2 separate regions of the Homo sapiens genome follow, and region 2 is linked to region 1. The links are contacts of gene promoters, found by promoter capture Hi-C in blood cells and fetal thymus (Javierre and others, 2016). All regions are on one chromosome and are shown on one strand. Each heading gives the region's core, a stretch centred on a gene start or on the middle of the fragment in contact. The rest is flanking DNA. Distances are from core to core; before and after follow the strand shown. Region 1 holds the start of ECT2 (epithelial cell transforming 2). Region 2 holds the start of RPL22L1 (ribosomal protein L22 like 1).

Region 1 (2,968 bases), core at 268-2,767:
CAGGAGAATCGCTTGAACCCGGGAGGCAGAGGTTGCAGTGAGCCGAGATCGTGCCACTGCACTCCAGTCTAGGTAACAAGAGGTAGACTCCGTCTAAAAAAAAAAAAAAAACTTCTTGAAAATATTTACATTTTTCTCCTATGCCTCCCTCTTTAAGAGGGAGCACAGCAAATGATCAAAAGCAGATGATTAATAAAAGGGAGGGAGCATAGCAGATGATCGAAAGCAGATGATTAATAATTAAAATTGCCCCTGATGATACTGTATATGATCAATTTATTGCCAAAACAGCTTCAAAATGTATAGAGAAAAAGAGATGCACTACGGTAACTTGATGACATAACTAACATCCAACAGTCAGATTAGAAATGGAAATATATTAATCACTTTTTTTCAAATTACTGTATTCCAGAAGCCTTTAAAATAAGCACAATAGGATCAGTGTTCATAAACCTACACAGCTTCTCACCCAAGAACAGACCCAAGGAGCTTCTAACTAAACACACTATAACACATGCCCCCTTTTATCCCAGAGATAAAATTTGCCATGTAAACAAACATTCAAGTTTCCTTTTACTTAAATACTTTTTAGGCAATCATCTTCCAAGGTGAAGGACTAAAATGCAATCCAAGATATAATGGTGGTGTTATTAACAATAACATTACTATTAACAACTGACATTTACTTAACGCTTAATACGTGGCAGACATTGTCCTAAACCTTTTAATCTCTGCAGTAATCCTAAGAGGCAGGTACTATTATTATTTTCAATGTATGGATGAAGAAACGTAGGAACAGAGAGGTTAAGCAACTTCCCCTAAGTCAAACTGTTAGTAAGGGGTAAAAGAGGTATTCAAAGCCCGGCTAAATCCAGAGGCTGCGCCTTTAACCACTAAGCCGGACACATCTGTGCCGGGTGGCTGGGGAGGACGAGGGGCGGATGGCCTGGATTTATCTTGCAAAAACGAAAAATTAAACTTCCCGCAAAGAAGCCAGGATGAATCCTAGAATAAAACCACGGCGCACTCTGAGATAAGCCCCCAAAGGCTGCAAGTGCCGGCCCCCAAAGCCACAGGGCTGCGCGGCTTGCCAAAATCCCTTTCCCAACTCCCTCCCTTCACCCACACTCTTCTGTCCAAAAGAGCCAACAGGTGAGGGCGAAGATGCCCAGCAATACTGGGGGCTTCGGTCTCCCACTCCGCGTCAGGGCCCGGCTGCTGGGGGTGGGGTGCGGCGAGGGAGTTCCCGGATCCGGGAAGCCTGAGCTGGGGCGCTCCGGAATTCGCGGTCACTAGGGGCGGGGACGTCGACCGCAGGCAAAAGAGCCCTTGGCTCTGGAGCCGCTCGCCCACTTGCACCTCTCTCACTCACACAGAGTCCTTACCACTCTCAAAAAAGCCCTAGGAGTTCCACCTCTTCAAACGCCGACTCCTCTCACAAATACCGCCATTCCTCGCCGGCGGCCGCCACAACCGATTCAAAAACTAAGCTGCTCTCTCTAAGAGCCATGCCGATTGGCGCGTGATGTCAACCTCTTTCCCATAGGCAGGAGTCTCCAGAGGGGCGGTGATTGGTCGACGCTCTCCAAGTCCCGGCAGGCGCCGCTTGATTGGTTGTGCGTGTGTTTCAAATAAGCCCAACGACTCGGGCGTCGGGACGCCAGGAGTTTGCAGAGAAGTGCCCGGATGTGGCCAGGAGGTGGCGGTGGTGGCTCCTGAGGTCTTAAAGGAGTAGCAGGTGTTTCTGTGACTACCGCATATTTACTCAGTAAACATCCTACTTCCTGAGGAAAGTTTGGGTGGATTCTCCTCGGCCCCACCCAGCTTTTTTTTTTTTTTAAACGATACCAAATCTTTTAAGCTTAAATCAGTGCCGCCAGAGATAAATGTTTCCCTGCTGCTTGCTGTGAGCTGTAGGATTTTCCTATCGGGATGCTTTCTGCTTTAGGAATGTATTTAAATTTGAGTTAAGGGATTTTGACTTTGATGGTTGTATTGGCGTGTGGCAGGGCCAAGGACCGGTCCTAGAACTCGGACTCCCCAGGTGGACTTCAAATCAGCAGCCGCTTATTTAAATGCTATTATTTAAAGCACTGCGCTCCCATCTAGGGAGTATCGCGGGTTAGAATCAATTCTTAGAAATTAGAAAAATTCTCGGATTTTTTTAAAGATAAGCTTGAATTTGATAAAAATATGCCACGAGATTCTAGAATTTTTGGAGCCAAATTGCTTCGTCTTTGCCCCCCTCCGCCCACTAAGAACTTGTACTTTCCCCTAAAGTCTAGTCAAGAATGTATCAAGTTTTTCCTGTGATTAGCGTTGCTATTATGAAAATAATTTCTTTATTTTCTAAATATGATACCATATAACACAATCTCTTAAGAAAAATACACCCCCACCAGGTGGGTTTTCCATAGTTCCCACCTGAAGGCTAATATAAATAGAAGAAGAAAGGGGAATCAGATGCCAGAACCTAAATACCAATAAGAAGAGGCAAACGTGTACTTTGGGATGGAACACTTGTGAGCATCTCAAGCAGGTTGTGGGGACTTAACAATTTTTTCTAATTTTGTCAGGCAATCTTAGAATGCCTGAAAAGTTTATAATGCTGTCCACAAAATGAATGAAGCAATCTGGTAATTATTGGTTTCCCTGCTTGTCAGTATTTAAGTCTGACCTTCATTAAAATGCTGTGATAACTGTTACGGCAGAAAAAAAGAAAAACAGTAATTGAAATTTCCATTTGGAATGTGCTTGCGTATTTGGAAGTCGGGTGTGCCCAGCATTCCAAAAACGTTCATCACTGAAAACATATTAAGCTATTGTGGGAAGCAGCCCTACTTCCTTTGTGCACCGCTTTCTGCTCAACAGACTTTCCAAAGCTAATGATTAACTGTGTATGGTATCATTGCCATGAATTTTAAGCTTCCCTAACAAAAGCTGTACTTGATTTCTTTTAAGGGATGTG
Region 2 (2,968 bases), core at 308-2,807, 1.9 Mb after region 1:
TTTTCCCCCATTACAGTTTCTAACTAGTTATTTGGTGATTACTAGTTCTTGTGAAACAGGTATGTTTCCATATCCTCCTTGTACAAATGGCTTAATAGTGCTTAAGGAGTTTATTGTCAAGACATGGAAGACTGCTAAAGACAAGCAAAATAGAATCATTTCTGCCCCTCAGCTTAGGCAGCCCTTGAGGAGGAAATGCCAATTGCTCCCTTTAATGTTTGGAAAGAGAAATGTGATTATTGTAGCTCTTAAGGCAGACAACTAAAAAATCTTGTTGAAATGGATTTCTTCTAGGAATTCAGGGCCTCTCTTCAGACTCTACAAGTCATATGCTCTATTAAAGCATAGTTTCCACGATAACTACTTGCTGGCATAAAGGCCACGAACAGTTCTTACTTTCTGGGGTCATTCTTCAAATTAACAACAAAGTCCACCCCATCCCTTACCCCTACCCCTAGGTATGATAATTTCATCTCCACGAAAACATATTACTGCTAAACCCAAGCGGTTCAGCATGCCACTTTTCGGATCTGATGTCAATTTACAATCCTTCAAAGCTCAAAAGCTACTTTTTCCTTTTGTCAGCAAGACACTTCCACCCTCGTGTGTCTTGTACATACTGATAGGTCACAGCAAACATTCATTGAATTTTAACTGGGAGCATTTTGGATGGAAATCAAGAGACCTGGGATTAACTGTAAAACCCATGATAAATTATACCAAACGAATGAACAAGAAGCAAGCACTACGTGTTTTTCCCTTTGAGACAGTCTCACTGTTACCCAGGCTGGAGTGCAGTGGCTCGATCTCGACTCACTGCAACTTCCGCCTCTCAAGGTAAAGCGATGCTCCTGCCTCAGCCTCCCGAGTGGCTGGGAGTACAGACGCGCACCACCACGCGGGCCATTTTTTTTAAAATTGTTTGTAGAGACGGGTTCTCCCTATGCCTACGCTGCCAAGGGTGGTCTCGAACTCCTGGGCTCAAGAGATTCTCCGGCCTCGGCCTCCCAAAGTGCTGGGATTACAGGCGTGGGCGTGTAAGCATATATATACATGATTTTTTTTTCCCGAGGACCTGGTCCCCGAAGCACCAATTTCCCTCAACAGTCATTTAGAAAACGAGGCTCACAGACAAAACACAAACAAATAACTTTTTCGCTGGAGGATTATAACTGCAATAAAAGGAGATCCCAAAGCAACCTGAGACACTGCCTTGCCCTGATTGGAAAGGGGATTCCGGTGATTAGTGAAAGATGACTCCTGCATCCCTCGCGTGCGTCCGTATCCGGGAGCAGCCACTAGGTAACTGTAGAGGCCACTGCAATTAATCGGCTTGAACAGCCAGGAGCGGAAACCCGAGAGTCAGTTCAACCACAGCCACCCGCGTGTGCCCGCGGAAAGCCGATGGCCTACTCTCGTCCGGCAGCGCACTGGTTTCCTGGGTTACCGGCCTCAGCGCTCCTCCCGCTTTCTTTTCCGGGAGGCGACAATCTGACGCTCTCAGCGCGTGACGCAGCACGCTTTGATATAAATGCAGACCGCGCGGCCGTAGCTTCCTCTCTGCTCTCGCGGCCGACTCGCAAGATGGCGCCGGTGAGTGAGCGATGTCTTGGTGGGAGTGTTGTGTGGCAATTTAATGATTTCCGCTGTAACGATTTTTGCATCTGTCGAGTGGAGACGTCTCAGTCAAGATAAAGGGAGGGGAGTAGTGAAGTCTGGGTCAGAAACACAACCAAGACGCGAGGATCCTGAACTGTTTTTCGAGACTCCCTGGCAGCTGCCATGAGGTCTAGTGGAGTTGGAGCTGGGCCCGGAATTGGTTTAGGATGGGTGGTTTTGGACACGCGGGAAAGAGGGAGGCACAACTGTAAATGGGCCGGTGGTACTGCAATCTGAGCCATTTCTTTACTATCTCGCGCCTGATAATGCTTTTGCCACTCAGCACTGGGTAGGGGAATGGTGGGTAATCGGGCCGGTCTGACGACCTTTGCCAGGCCAGAGGGAGCTCCTAGGCGCTCAGCTCCCGCGATGGCCGACATCACAAGTTTTTGAGAACTTTCAGTTGGGGAAGAAGTTTCTCGGTGAAGTAATTTTTAGAAAAGTATAAGTCTAGATTCCAGCAATGTGAAATAAACGTGCTTCAGATGTTTTACTTAAGTCATTAGTAAGGGAACCAGTAAGATGTTAAAATGTTCCTAAGAATATCTGAAAAGCTAGATATACATGCGCAATTTACAAATAAAGTTAGGATAAAATTGCTGGGCTAGCTACAAAACTGGGTAATGCCCAGCATGGCCATAAACCCTATAGGGTTATCTGTTCCATTAGACAGAAGTTGTTTGTGTCTCCCAAATTAACTTCTGCGCCAACTGGGTAATTATCTTTTGGCACATGTTACCATGCTACCTGAGAAAGCAAACTAATGTGTAATACTTGGTAGCCACTTGGGTGAATCTAAATTGGAGGTTATAGTCTGATAAATACAGATTTGTTTGTTCATATTGCAGTGAATGTACATGGTTGCTGGCCACAGTAACATTTTGCTTATGTAGCCATATTATATGGTCTTGGTATAAAAGGTTTGGATATGGAAAATTTAAGTTCCACGGTGTTGGTTTTTAGGTTTTTTTTTTTTTTTGAGACAGAGTCTGTTGCCCAGGTGGGAGTATAGTGGCATGATCAGGCTCACTACAACCTCCGCCTCCCGGGTTCAAGCAATCCTCCCGACTCAGCCTCCTGAATAGCTAGGATTATAAGCATGCACCACCACACCTGGCTAATTTTTGTATTTTTACTAGAGATGGGGTTTCACCATGTTGGCCAGGCTGGCCTTGAACTCCTGACCTCACGTGATCCTCCTGCCTCAGCCTCCCAAAGTGCTGGGACGGCACCTTGCCTTTTTTATTTTTATTTTTTCTTTTTCTTTTCTTTTCTTTTTTTTTTTTTTTACCAAAGTCCCCTTCCCTTG

Evidence for each region. Contacts are between HindIII fragments. The CHiCAGO score rates a contact against its expected background, and 5 or more counts as called.
Region 2: the fragment with the promoter of RPL22L1 here is called in contact with the fragment with the promoter of ECT2 in region 1 in 2 of 17 cell types (naive CD8 T cells and non-activated CD4 T cells); the score reaches 6.6 in naive CD8 T cells.

What each region holds. Positions count from the first base shown.
Region 1 is chr3:172,749,275-172,752,242 of GRCh38, reverse strand. It overlaps ECT2 (epithelial cell transforming 2), which reads right to left and starts at 1,517. Exons shown (of 25, transcript NM_001258315.2): 1 at 1,386-1,517. RefSeq lists a silencer at 1,102-1,171 and enhancers at 1,282-1,541, 1,562-1,611, 1,712-1,981. The HindIII fragment of the contact is 5,304 bases long and covers 1-1,863 here.
Region 2 is chr3:170,868,784-170,871,751 of GRCh38, reverse strand. RPL22L1 (ribosomal protein L22 like 1) reads left to right here and starts at 1,557. Exons shown (of 4, transcript NM_001099645.2): 1 at 1,557-1,593. The coding sequence starts at 1,585. RefSeq lists enhancers at 393-1,118, 1,119-1,845, 2,015-2,064. The HindIII fragment of the contact is 15,380 bases long and covers 1-2,968 here.